Regions from separate parts of the Homo sapiens genome. Here region 2 is linked to region 1. Evidence: promoter capture Hi-C in 16 types of primary human blood cells and fetal thymus (Javierre and others, 2016). All regions are on one chromosome and are shown on one strand. The core of a region is centred on a gene start or on the middle of the fragment in contact, and the rest is flanking DNA. Distances in the headings are between cores, read along the strand shown.

Evidence for each region. The method cuts DNA at HindIII sites, captures the fragments that hold promoters and counts their contacts. A CHiCAGO score of 5 or more calls a contact.
Region 2: a contact is called between the fragment with the promoter of RPS20 here and the fragment with the promoter of ATP6V1H in region 1, in 6 of 17 cell types (naive CD8 T cells, non-activated CD4 T cells, naive CD4 T cells and 3 more). The highest score is 22.4, in naive CD8 T cells.

What each region holds. Positions count from the first base shown.
Region 1 is chr8:53,840,057-53,846,425 of GRCh38, reverse strand. It overlaps ATP6V1H (ATPase H+ transporting V1 subunit H), which reads left to right and starts at 3,181. Exons shown (of 14, transcript NM_015941.4): 1 at 3,181-3,392; 2 at 4,701-4,848. The coding sequence starts at 4,736. RefSeq lists enhancers at 1,746-1,795, 3,093-3,232 and a silencer at 2,873-3,022. The HindIII fragment of the contact is 7,596 bases long and covers 96-6,369 here.
Region 2 is chr8:56,070,483-56,077,612 of GRCh38, reverse strand. It overlaps RPS20 (ribosomal protein S20), which reads left to right and starts at 3,107. Exons shown (of 4, transcript NM_001023.4): 1 at 3,107-3,232; 2 at 3,454-3,553; 3 at 3,845-3,918; 4 at 4,341-4,559. The coding sequence starts at 3,230. The coding sequence ends at 4,523. It overlaps SNORD54 (small nucleolar RNA, C/D box 54), which reads left to right and starts at 3,712; the gene lies at 3,712-3,774. It overlaps CERNA3 (competing endogenous lncRNA 3 for miR-645), which reads right to left and starts at 3,021. Exons shown (of 2, transcript NR_149110.1): 1 at 2,733-3,021; 2 at 2,339-2,606. The HindIII fragment of the contact is 15,741 bases long and covers 1-3,379 here.

The sequences.
Region 1 (6,369 bases), core at 1,932-4,431:
GGACCATATTTTTAAAATGTCAAATTGTGGAGGTTGTCCTTATGGGGCCGATGGTGCAATGCAATGAAATTAACTTACCTGAAAAATCTGAAGCTTGGTTGCCATGAGTATTCAGGACACTGGTATGGAGTGTAAGTGAAAACCAGCATGATTGATGATAGATGTGCTTTGGCAATACCAAAGCAATCAGAAGTTGTTAGGACAGTTGGTTAGAGCACTTTGTGAAGGGGTCATGACGTCACTACTCAGTGTTACCATTAGGCCAAACTAGGCCAGCTTCTTGCAAATGCCTATTGTTCCCAAGGAGACTGTGTGAAAGAATGGAAAAACCATTCTTCCATTAAACTAATAATTTATTCAGTCAGCTATAAAAACTTCTCAAAGTCCTTGTGTAACTGAAGGTAGGCTGGCAGCATAATCTTCACTTGGGGGTGGTAAGTTTTCATGACAAATATTTTAGAATAGGATTTTCTTTGACTAGAACTCTTCTACTTCTGTGGGCAAATATAAGTTCAATTCATACTTGGAAAGAAAAGATTGGAAATGATGGTGTTTATAGCATTCCATATATTTCAGACAGAAGAAATTCCTTTGAAACGTCATATATTTTCTACCTTCTGATGATTCCTAAGTGGTAGATTCCTAGTTTACATCTCCAAACATGTAATCCTATTCTAGTGAAGAATTGAACATTAACTTAATAAATACATTATTAATATTATTTTCTCCTGTCCATATAGATTCATCTAACTTCCCCTTATGTCATTTCTAAATAACAAATCTGAAGCTCAATTTCAAAGAAATTACAAAGTAGCTCAAAGGTTATCTTTCTTATGTCATAATACAGCAGTCCCCAACCCTTTTGGTACCAGGGGCCAGTTTCGAGGAAGACAATTCTTCCACAGACAGGGTGGGAGGTGATGGGGCTGGTTTCAGGATGACACTGTTCCACCTCAGCTCATCAGGCATTAGATTCTCATACAGAGTGTGCAACCTAGATCCCTTGCAATGTGCAGTTCACGATAGGGTTCATGCTTCTGTGAAAATCTACTACCGCTGCTGATCTGACAGGAGGCAGAGTTTAGGCGGTAATGGGGCTTGCCCGCCGCTCACCTCCTGCTGTGCAGCCGGGTTCCTAACAGGCCATGGACCACACCAGTCTGTGGCCCAGGGTATGGGGACCCCAGGTATGTTATATAATTAGGTAACTGAGATCACCGCTATGGTCTGTGTCTCCCCAAAATTCCTGTGTTGAAATCCTAACTCCCAAGGTGATGATATTAGGAGGTGGGACCTTTGGGAAATGATCAGGTCATGAGGGTGGAGCTCTCATGAATGAAATTAATGTCCTTATGAAAGAGACCCCAGAGAGCTCTCTCACCTCTCCACCATGTGAAGCTACAATGAGAAGACAGCAGTTTGCAACCTGGGACAATCCTTCCCAGAACCTCACCATGATAGCACCCCAATTCTGAACTTTCAACCTCCAGAACTGTGAGAAAATGACTTTCTGTTGTTTATAAGCCACCCAGTCTACAGCACTGTTACAGGAGCCTGAATGGACCAAGAAAAATCTCCGATAGAAGTGTTACAGAAATAATGTTAAGAGAGATAATGCCGGGAGTACCTGCCTCTTCTCTTCTCCCTACTCCAGGCAAATTGTCTGGTAATGTTGTGATGCTCGGAGAACGCCAGCCCAGGTGCCTGTGAAGCAGTCCCCTCTGCTCACTGCACTGTTCCTGATTTTGTTCCATAACTTTGTGCCTCTAGGAAAAGAGGAGAGCCTCCCGAAATCTGATGAGACTCGCTGTATCACGCCAGTCTGTGGCTTAGGTGATACAGAAAGGAAATGCGAAGATCAGGCCTCACTGCCAGCTTTGCTCAGTTACACAGAAAACATGCTGTTTCAGCTTTTGGGAGTTTCTTAGTACACGATCGGTTTCTTTTTCTCTTTTATGAAAGTTTTTCCCCTTAGATTTGCTTTCAAAACAACAGACTTTCACTTCTGGCTAAGACAGAATGAGTGACCTAGTACAATCTTTGACACTGTTATTATATATCTTTATTCATAATCAATGCATGATTTTGATTATTCTGACTTTAATTTTACGAGTAAAAATGGGTTGGTTATAAATCCCTTTCAAAGAATTTTTTTTTTTTCTTTTTGAGACGGAGTTTTGCTTTTTCTGCCCAGGCTGGAGTACAATGGTGCGGTCTTGGCTCACTGCAACCTCTGCCTCCTGGGTTCAAGTGATTTTCCTACCTCAGCCTCCCAAGCAGCTGGGATTACAGGCATGCGCCACCACACCCAGCTAATTTTTTGTATTTTTAGTAGAGATGGGGTTTCACCATGTTGGTCAGCTGGTCTCGAACTCCAGACCTCAGGTGATCCACTGGCCTCGGCCTCCCAAAGTGCTGGGATTACAGGAGTGAGCCACCGCGCCCGGCCCCTTTCATTGCTTTTTAAGGAAAACATGCTATCATATATACTTCACCTCCAGGGCAGTACATTCTTACTTTAAGGCAAAGACAGTTGCTGAGGCCTGGACTAGGGGAAAATTTGGGCTCCAGATGGGACTGTTGGATAAAATACCAGACGTCCTGTAAATGTGAATTTTAGATAAACAACGAATAACTTTTTAGTATAAAAGTAAATACTGCAATGGAATTTATTATTTGCTAAATGTGCAACCCTAGGTTAAGAGAGCTTTTCAGACCCACTTCTCAGCCCGAGTTTTCTATTTAAAATCAGAATAAGAACGCCTGCTTCATGGAGCTGTTAAATCCAAATGGAAATTAATTTGAAAGCGCGAAATCAAACTTTTCAAAAGAATGACGGTTACAATAAGAGCGTTTTGGCCTCTGCTAGCTGCTTCCGGGCGGAGGTCCTCGGCCTCCCCTAGGCGAGGCACTAGGTCTGGGGGCGGCGGGTCTTAGCGTGCCCGCCACGCTCGCCGCCTCCCACCTGCCCTGGCTGGCTGGGGCCCGACCCTTGCGTCGCTCCGGGGCCCAAGTTACGGACTCGGGAATCCAGTTGTCCGCACCGAACAAGCCCCGCCGCAGCGCCCGCCCCTCCTCTTGCTGCTTTGGAGTCTCCCGGCTTCCGCCTTCCGCAGCAGTCACGTGCCTCCGATCACGTGACCGGCGCCTCTGTCATTCTACTGCGGCCGCCCTGGCTTCCTTCTACCTGTGCGGCCCTCAACGTCTCCTTGGTGCGGGACCCGCTTCACTTTCGGCTCCCGGAGTCTCCCTCCACTGCTCAGACCTCTGGACCTGACAGGAGACGCCTACTTGGCTCTGACGCGGCGCCCCAGCCCGGCTGTGTCCCCGGCGCCCCGGACCACCCTCCCTGCCGGCTTTGGGTGCGTTGTGGGGTCCCGAGGATTCGCGAGGTAAGGCCGCCCTCGCGTTGTTTGGTCTCAGGCTGCAGACCAGGTCAGGCGACTCTTGCAGTTTCTCCAGCTTGCCTGGTGCGTGCTGGTGTCTCGCCGCTTGGTCCTCTCCTGTTCTTCGGCCCCCGGTTGCCAGATTGCTTTTCTTCCAGGCCTCAACCAGGTTTATTAAGCGAAATTCTGGAGCCTTTCTCGCAGGGGGAAGAAACGTCAGGGGCGGGCAGGAGAGTGGAGGGGGAGGGGTAAAAAGTATACCTTCTCCAGGACTGGGCCACGGCCCTGGATCGCTGGGGGTGCGAGTAGTTCAGGGACTTAGGTAATTGTCTAGAGACACCTTGAGCTACGCCAGGACGGGCCGCTGAGGCTGAGCCTCCTTGGCTGCAGAGTTCCAGCCTGGCCCAGTTGAAGCCTGTTTTTTCCTGGGCCCTGTCGTTCGCGCTGCCCAGGGTTGTTTATACAGCAAATCTTCAGATACAGAGATTAAGTTCCAAATTGATTAAGATCGTTGGAAACCCGGAATATAATTTTGGGTAGGATTTTAACTTCTTTGTGGCCATGGCCGTGAATTTATGTTTTGCAAGTGGCAACCTGTATTTTGCTTTGTGTTAAAATCAGTCGTTTGTATCTGGAAGTTTAGGAGTGAGAATTACATAGAATTTCATTATTGTAGGTTCTTGTCGTCCAGCCAGACCGCCATTGTTGGCTTACCTAAATTGTAATATGTATTTGTTCTAAAACTTTCTCTCCGAATTTTGATTTTGCAAATACTATGAATTTTGTTTGAAAAGGAAAGCACTGTCTTCTAAGAAATTATGTTCCCACTTTGTGTATTTTAATTTGAGTAATTTTCGAAAGGACTTAGAATTTTTAATGTGCCACTTCAAAATGATGCTTAGTAAATGTTTATAAAACTAGCCTTATCCGTACTATTCATATTCTTATTGTTTCTCTATGAGAAAAGTTAACCACAATTGTATAAATTTACAATTTTTCCCATATTTATACCTATTCTATTTAATCATGATTTCTGATTTCAGTATATTAGGTGATTGCTTTAAAAATCTTACTGCAGTGTTAGTGCCAATAATGAAAAAAATTTTTCTAGAAAAGCAAAAGCCTAAAGAACTCTTTTATGGAGCAGTGGACAATATTTGAAATATAATGATACTTTCAGACTTAGGACATTTAATATTTGAGTTGAATGCCTGGGGAGATTAAAGTGATCACGATATTCATAATCATAATATTAATAGTTGTAAAAAAAAGAAACACCTCGTATTCTGTTTTTACCTTGCATCAAAATTGAAGATTTGTTGAAAGACATTCAAGATTACGAAGTTTAGATGACCAAAATGGATATCCGAGGTGCTGTGGATGCTGCTGTCCCCACCAATATTATTGCTGCCAAGGCTGCAGAAGTTCGTGCAAACAAAGTCAACTGGCAATCCTATCTTCAGTAAGTACCAATTTGCTGTGAATCATGGACAGTCATATGCTTTTGCATCAGACTTTTTCATGGTCATGCTTCTATGAGAGAAATACAGGGAAAATACTGAAAAATGTGGAAGAAACACTTCCTCTTCAGAATAATTAGCTGTCTTAGGGAGTTAAGTGTAGTGGGGTGGAAACAGCTTGGCGCCCTAGTGGGGAAGCAGAGCGGCTTATGGTGCTTTTGACCTTCTCTGGCTGCCTGGGGAAGTACTTTTGGAATAAGTGGGAAACATAGGAGGAATGTCCTTGGGCTAACGGAGGGAGGAAGGGGATGAGGGGCAAAACCTGCTAGACTGGTCTGATATGCCCTGGCAATCAGCATGGGGGCAGGTGGCCTTTTTAGAGTGGTGCATACAACTAATAAGAAGCACAGATATTTGAGTTGAGAGACTTGGATTTGAGTTTTGGTTCTTGCTATTAGTTTGGTGATCTTAAGCAAATCACTTAACTTCTCTGAGGCTCAATAAAGTAAAATGTGAAATGGGGAGACATACCCCACAGGCTTGTTGCTGAAATAATGTATTTATTAGCACAGTAGAATACAAGCATTAGTATGTTGAATACAATACATTTTAGTTCCCCCTTCTTTCTTGTATGTATTAATATTTAATGTGCTGATGTTTCAGTATTTTGTATTTATCTATAAAGTGAGCATTCATGTATTCTTGACCATATTTTATTGACTTCATATTTATTTTGGTATATTTATAACTGAGTTACCAAGGAATTCAGTTCAGATTTGCATATGCATTTTGAAAAACAAATTGAGGAATCTAGTTTTATATTAGTGTTAATTTTATATTAGTATTAATAGTTTGTGTTGTTGTAGGAGGGATCTATAATGTACAAAAATGATCCTTTAATTTCTGTTAATTTAATCACTCATCAAACATTTATTGATTACCTGCCAAGTTTGAGGCATTTTTCCAGGCTTTGAGGCTACAAAAATTCCATACAGAGTACTGTCCCTGAAGGAACTAAAACTCTAGTAGGGAAGTCAGATGTATTAATAGATCATTTTAATTCACTATTTTTTTTTTTTTTTGAGACAGAGTCTCACTCTGTTGCCCAGGCTGGAGTACAGTGGGGCAGTCTTGGCTCACTGCATCCTCCGCCTCCCGGGTTCAAGCAGTTCTCCTTCCTCAGCCTCCCGAGTAGCTGGGATTACAGGCACCTGACACCTTGCCCGCCTAATTTTTTTGTATTTTTAGTAGAGACAGGGTTTCAACATGTTGGCCAGGCTGGTCTCGAACTCCTGACCTCGTGATCTGCCCCTCTTGGCCTCCCAAAGTGCTGGGATTACAGGCGTGAGCCACCGTGCCCGGCTCTAATTCAGTATGTTAACTGTGGCAATAGAAAGATGCACAGGGTCTGGCAGGTGCACATAAAAAAGACAAGTAATTCTACCCCTTGGAAATTTTCCTGAAGGGGCTGGTCCCTGAACTGAGTTTTTGAGGATGATGGGTATTTAGCCATGTGGCAAGTA
Region 2 (7,130 bases), core at 1,858-4,357, 2.2 Mb before region 1:
TTTATCTTTAGTAGAGACAGGGTTTCACCATGTTGGCCAGGCCGATCTCGAGCTTCTGACTCCAGGTGACCTACCCGCCTCAGCCTCCCAAAGGCTAGGATTACAGGTGTGAGCCACCATTCCCGGCCAGAATTTCCTTCTTTTTTAAGGCTGAATAATATTGATCCATTCAGGCTGGGCACGGTGGCTCACACCTGTAATCCTAGCACTTTGGAAGGCTGAGGTGGGCAGATAACCTGAGGTCAGGAGTTCAAGACCAGCCTGGCCAACATGGTGAAACCTCGTCTCTACCGAAAATACAAAAATTAGCCGGGCATGGTGGTGCCTGCCTGAACTTCCAGCTACTTGGGAGGCTGAGGCAGGAGGATTGCTTGAACCCAGGAGGTGGAGGTTGCAGTGTGCCGAGATCGCACCACTGCGCTCCAGCCTGAGCAACAGAGTAAGACTCTGTTTCCAAAGAAAAAAAAGATCCATTCATCTGTTGCTGGACACCTAGGTCATTTCCTGACCTTAGCTACTGTAAATAATGCTGCAATAAACATGGGAGTGCAGGTATCTCTTCTAGATACCAATTTCATTTTCTTTGGGTATATACCCAGAAGTGGGATGGCTGGTTCACATGGAAGTTCCATTTTTAATTTTTTGAGGACCCTCCATACTGTTTTCCAAAAAAAAAAAATTTCCATTACTTTTGTCTAATATTATCTTAACCATTTGTTTCCTTAGTTCTAGTCACATCAGCCATTTTTCACATACCTGCTGGGCCACATTTTGCTTTTCTCTATAAAGAAATTTCCTCGTTTACTATCAAAGTAGTTAACTTGTTCACCAGTTCCTCAAATACTTAAAGGATGAGGTAAGCCTAAGAAAAAGATGTACCAGATTTGTTATAAAAAAAAAATCACACTTGTACAAAATTACAATTGTACTTCTCAATGAAATTCCTTCATTGAATTTCCAGTCATCTTTGAGCATTAGTAAAACATGAATGCCGCTGTATATGTTCACTTAAAATATGCACAGTCACCTCCAGGCAGTACTACAGCGGTGGCTGATCACACCCCAGGGAGCAGGGCAATTGTGCTTTTGTCTATTTGTCGCACACAGCCATACCAATAAGTTAAACCTCTAAGTTATGAAGTCTCAGGTTACAGCTAGCACAATAAGAATGCAGGTTTTCAGAATTTCTGCTGAAAATTCTACTAAGAGAGTATTTACAGACAATGGATTACATTTAAAAATAACTGAACTGGGGCCGGGATAGGTGGCTCACACCTGTAATCCCAGCACTTTGGGAGGCCAAGGCAGGCAGATCGCGAGTTCAGGAGATTGAGACCATCCTGGCTAACACGGTGAAACACCGTCTCTAGTAAAAACACAAAAAATTAGCTGAGAGTGGTGCCACGTGCCTGTGGTCCCAGCTACTCGGGAGGCTGAGGCAGGAGAATTGCTTGAACCCAGGAGGTGGAGGTTGCGGGGAGCCAAAATCGTGCCACTGCATCCAGCCTCGGCGACAGAGCGAGACTCCATCTCAAAAAACAAACAAACAAAAAACCCAAAAAACTGAACTGGAAAACATCCAAATTTGAAAATTTAAAATAATTGTTAAAATGGCAGCAAAAAACCTCATACGTATCGTGAGCCAAAGAAACCCAGTTATTAGTTATGTTCCAATTATCACCAAATAAGACAATGCTATTATTTGATTAAAGTTTCAAACATAATTTCCTACCAAGGAACAGAAGACAAAACCTCAAGAAAGAGTCCTGACGGGGCGAGCGCGGTGGCTCACGCCTGTAATCCCAGCACTTTGGGAGGCCGAGGCGGGCCTGAGATCTGGAGTTTGAGACCAGCATGATCAACATGGAGAAACCCCGTCTCTACTAAAAAAAAAAAAAAAAAAAAAAAAATTAGCCGGGCATGGTGGCGCATGCCTGTAATCCCAGCTACTCCGGAGGCTGAGGCAGGAGAATCGCTTGAACCCAGGAGGCGGAGTTTGCGGTGAGCCGAGATCGCGCCATGGCACTCCAGCCTGGGCAACAAGAATGAAACTCCGTCTCACAAAAAAAAAAAAACAAAACAAACAAAAAAAAAAAACAACAAACAGGCCTGGACGGAGGGGTCAGAGCTCTGTCCCTCCCCATTTCAGAGTGTTTGAGCAAATAACTCTTTCGGCTCAGAGCTTCAGGTGGAAAGTAATATGAGATGATTTTACTCTTCTTTCTGCCCTGTATCAAAATCCATCTCAGTGATTTCCACGTATTTAGCCCCGGCTTCTTGCTCAGGTGTAGGTGAGCTCACCCTGCGCTCTCTCCCACTGCTCAGCTCAGTTGACCATTCGGGTTTTCCACTATACTTGGTCACTTATGTGATTATGAACAGATGTTCAGTATTAAGAAGACCCTGGGGGATCTTATCCAATGACTTTATCCAACAGAAAGGAGATGAGGTATCAGGACTGGGTGGCTAGCCAGGTTCCAGGCCGGGCCTCAGGATAGCTGCGCAGCCTGGCATTTTCGCCTCACTTTCCAGAAGGACGAGAAGCCAAGTTCAGGTCCTTTCCAGAAATAGATGTAGATACTTCTGCTGGACTGGGAAGCCAGGAGCTGAAATATCACAACAGGACGTTTCAGGCTATGAAAAATAACTGCTTACTAATTCTAACGTAAGTTATCCAGATTACGAGAAGCATTTCTGCCAATGCTCATGTCAGCTAAGCTCAGAGAAGTTACCTCATCCTCAGAGAGCAACGAATGGTATGGTCTATGTAGAAAGCAAAATTTGCAACGGAAAAACCAGAGTTCGTGTGCACTTTATGAGGAAGAGGGTTAGGTGCACCAGACAGAGGAGTTTCTCAGGTTTCCGTGTCGCCTGTTCTCTCGACCAGGTGGCCCTCTCGGCGCAGGCGGGGACCCCACCCTGCGGGACTTCGGCTCCTCCGTGCGGACAGGGGGCGCCCGCAGCCGTGCCTTTCCCGCCAACTCCACTAGTGCTCCAGCTCGCCCTTGTGCGACCGCCTCTAGGGCCCGGGATATTTCCTGTTCCGGGGCGTGTGGGACCCGGATGCAAGCGTGCTATATAAGCGTTGCTCAAGTCCCACCCCTTTCTTTTTGAGGAAGACGCGGTCGTAAGGGCTGAGGATTTTTGGTCCGCACGCTCCTGCTCCTGACTCACCGCTGTTCGCTCTCGCCGAGGAACAAGTCGGTCAGGAAGCCCGCGCGCAACAGCCATGGTGAGGCGGCAGTCGGCGGCGGGCGGCGCAACGCAGGGCTCGGGCGCCGGGGGGACCCCGGTTTCGAGTTCGTGCTCCTGAGGGCAGATGCCGGGGCGTGTAGGGGCGGAAAGGCGCTCCTGAAATGGTGGGGAAACGCGGGAAGCTTCCGGAAGCTGCCTTTCTCCAGAAGTGGCAGACCATTTTTGGCTTATTGTTCTTTTTCATGTATCTAATAATAGGCTTTTAAGGATACCGGAAAAACACCCGTGGAGCCGGAGGTGGCAATTCACCGAATTCGAATCACCCTAACAAGCCGCAACGTAAAATCCTTGGAAAAGGGTCAGTGCATTCGTTATGCGGGGGGGAGGGGGAATTGGGCGAAAAGCGACGAGCTTTACTCGTTAATGTTAGTGTAGAAGGTGGACTGCAAGAACTAAAGTGACAAGTTACTTAAAAAAGTAAAGCGTGGCTTAAAATTGCTTTTACTGTCATACAGCTGGCGATGAGGAGGTACCTATTGTGTTGAGTAACGGTGATAATTTTATACGCTATTCTGAGCCAGCAGAAGTGAAGGCCTTAAGCCGATTTTAATTGTTTCGATTATACTGAGAGGTCTTTTATTTCCTGTAGTGTGTGCTGACTTGATAAGAGGCGCAAAAGAAAAGAATCTCAAAGTGAAAGGACCAGTTCGAATGCCTACCAAGGTAAAGTAAATCGGAGGGGCAGGAAGTAGGAGTTGCTTCCGGATGTTGCATAAATTCAGGTTCTTTAAGGAGTTCGGCTGCCAAAATTGTTAACACTGATGCTGTCTACAAACGCACATAGAAATCGGTGGTAGATTGCGGTTCCTAGTAAGTAGCTAATGTTTAGATATGATTGTTGAATTATTGTTGCTGTGTTCTTGGTGTGCTTTGGTGCTTAACAGGCGCAAGCTCTAAGGGTGGTGTCCTAGCACAGTGAAAACAGACCTGGCATTTTCAACCCATGGTACCTGAAAATCTATTAGTGTAAATTGGAATCATACCAAAGGGAAACTAATGAAATGATTAGAAGTAATGATTTTCCAGATGTTCTAGGGATAAGTATAAAACGATAAACACTTGGTTTCCTTTGTCTTTTGTTACAGACTTTGAGAATCACTACAAGAAAAACTCCTTGTGGTGAAGGTTCTAAGACGTGGGATCGTTTCCAGATGAGAATTCACAAGCGACTCATTGACTTGCACAGTCCTTCTGAGATTGTTAAGCAGATTACTTCCATCAGTATTGAGCCAGGAGTTGAGGTGGAAGTCACCATTGCAGATGCTTAAGTCAACTATTTTAATAAATTGATGACCAGTTGTTAACTTCTGTTGGTTTTTATTCAGAATACTGGCAGATTTTAGGAATATAAAGGTGTACTATGAGACTTCCACTTTTCAGGTGGAATATATGGGTATCTTAGAGTGGTCTATCCTGTTTTCGTTGTCGTTTGAGTCATTTGAAAACTGGATTCCGTTAACTACATAATATGTGAGACCTGACTGGTTTTATTGGACACTGGCAGTTTATAACTTTGGCATACTCTAGATAAATTCTGATTGGTATGGGGTGTTAAGGTTTCTGGGGCGTTTGTAATGCACACCCATGGTTGAGAACCTAGTGCGCTAGTAGGCACGTGTTAAAAAGCTAGTAACTAATATTTTTAAATTAACCAAGTTTAACGTCCTTAAAAAAGGATTAAGTGGCAGAGGCAGGACTAAAACTAAGTTTTAGGGTTTTAGGAACTAAAACTTAGTTTAAAAATACTTATATTTTCAGTGTTTTATATTTTAAATATAAAATTTTCACTTTTTTTTTTTGGGGGGGGGGACGGCGTTTTGCTCTGTGGCCCAGGCTGGAGTGCAGTGGTGTGTTCTTGGCTCACTGCAACCTCTGCCTCCCAGGTTCAAGCAATTCTCCTGCCTCAGCCTCCCAAGTAGTTGGGATTACAAGTGCCTGCGACCAAGCCTGGTTAATTTTTTATTTTATAGTAGAGATGGGGTTTTGTCCTGTTGTTCAGGCTGGTCTCAAACTCCTGACCTCAGGTGATCCACCTGCCTCAGCCTCCCAAAGTGCTGGGATTACAGGCATGAGCCACCATGCCTGGCCCATTTTCACTTTTACATTTTTTAAAAATACTTATATTTTCAGTGTTTTAGACAGGGTCTCTGCAGTCCAGGCTGGAGTGCAGTGGTGTGATCACTGCAGCCTTGACCTGGGCTCATGCAATCCACCTCAAACTGCCTAGTAGCTGGGACTTAACAAGCATGTGGCTACCATGCCCAGCTAATTGTTTTTTGTAGAGGTGAGGTTTTGCCATGTTGCCCAGGCTGGTCTGGAACTCTGAAGACTCAAACCATCAGCCTGTGTTAGCCTACTAAACTGCTGGTGTTACAGGAGTGAGCCACTGTACCCAGCCTAGAATTTAAAATCAGATAGATACCCTTACAGGTTTGCTAAACTTATTGGGGAAAGTTTCTATAGATTTATTGTGGAAAAATGGAACATCTACAAATTGTTAAGATTGCCTTCAGAAAATTTTTGAAATTTTTAATAGGATCAAAGTTGGGTAATTCAAGTTTTTTCTTTTTGGATTTGGGCCTAGGCTTTCACGCTGAACTCTGCTATCTTTTCAAATTGACCTTCAGTTGAGATTTCTGTATACAACCAACTGCATGCTAGGCACCTGCAACCCACAGCTGAAAAGCTAATGTGTCTAAAATGAAATCTTCCCTCCCAGAAGCTCTGTCCTGTGTTCCTAGTCTGAATCCATTGTCTACTGAAGTCTCACAGTTCAAACTGGAGTCACCCCTTGCCCCTCCCCTACTGCTGTTACCCAACATCCAATTCCTTCTGAGTCTACTTCAGATCTCAAGACAAACCCAGTTAACATCAAGGATTTGAATGGAACTGAGTCTGGAATGAATTATGCCACATTGCTAAATTTAAACCAAACAGTTGATCTTTGGGAGCTGTTTAGCTATCAGTTAATAAGACCATTTTAAAATGGAATACCTATCAATACGTGGCCCCCAGACAAATACCTATGAACTTTTAGTGCAGCATAGCAGTCTTTAGAGCACACATGTCTTGAGAACTGACTGAGGAAATGAAATTCTGAAAAAAATGTCACTAAAGTCCAGAGAACATATACTGTGAAAAATACACTTCAGTAAATCAGAAAATAGTGGAAGGACAGCTTCATGGCTTTCACGGAATTGTGAACATGAGCAGTTGTGTTTTTTCACAATGGTTAAAGTGTTGGATTAAAGCTATACGTAATTGAGAACCTGTATTACAGCTAAAATAGCACTAAAAAATTTGAAACTGCTGTTATCTTCAATTTCTCAAACACTTAAAAATACCTGCATGGAAATAAAACTGCAGGGCCTTTGAATATAGGGAATTCAGGATAGATTAAATAGTGGTAATGATGCCAATAATTCTATGCAAGTTAACAGGCCATCTTGTATGGATGGGAGTTAAAGGAAGGTTGAAAATAGGATATCTCTGCAGTGCTTACTCTATTTGGATTTGCAGAGCACTGCTTCTGGTGTAGAAATGTAAGCTAGCAATAACCAAGGGAACAGAAACCACCATGGCTGTTCATTGCTGGGTCAGAATTTTTTTTTTTTTTTTTTGAATTTAAATGGAAACAGTCTCGCTGTGTCACCCAGGTTGGAGTGCAGTCGTGCGAACATGGCTCGCTGCAGCCTTCAACTCCCTGGCTGAACCGATCCTCCTGCCTCAACCTCAAGTAGCTGGGACTACAGGCTCACACCTTGACGCTTGGCCTGGCTTTTTTTGTGGAGATGGGGTCTTGCCATGTTGCCCAGGCTGGTCTCAAACTCCTATGCTCAGGCGATCCACCCTCCTCGGCCTCCCATAGTGCTAGG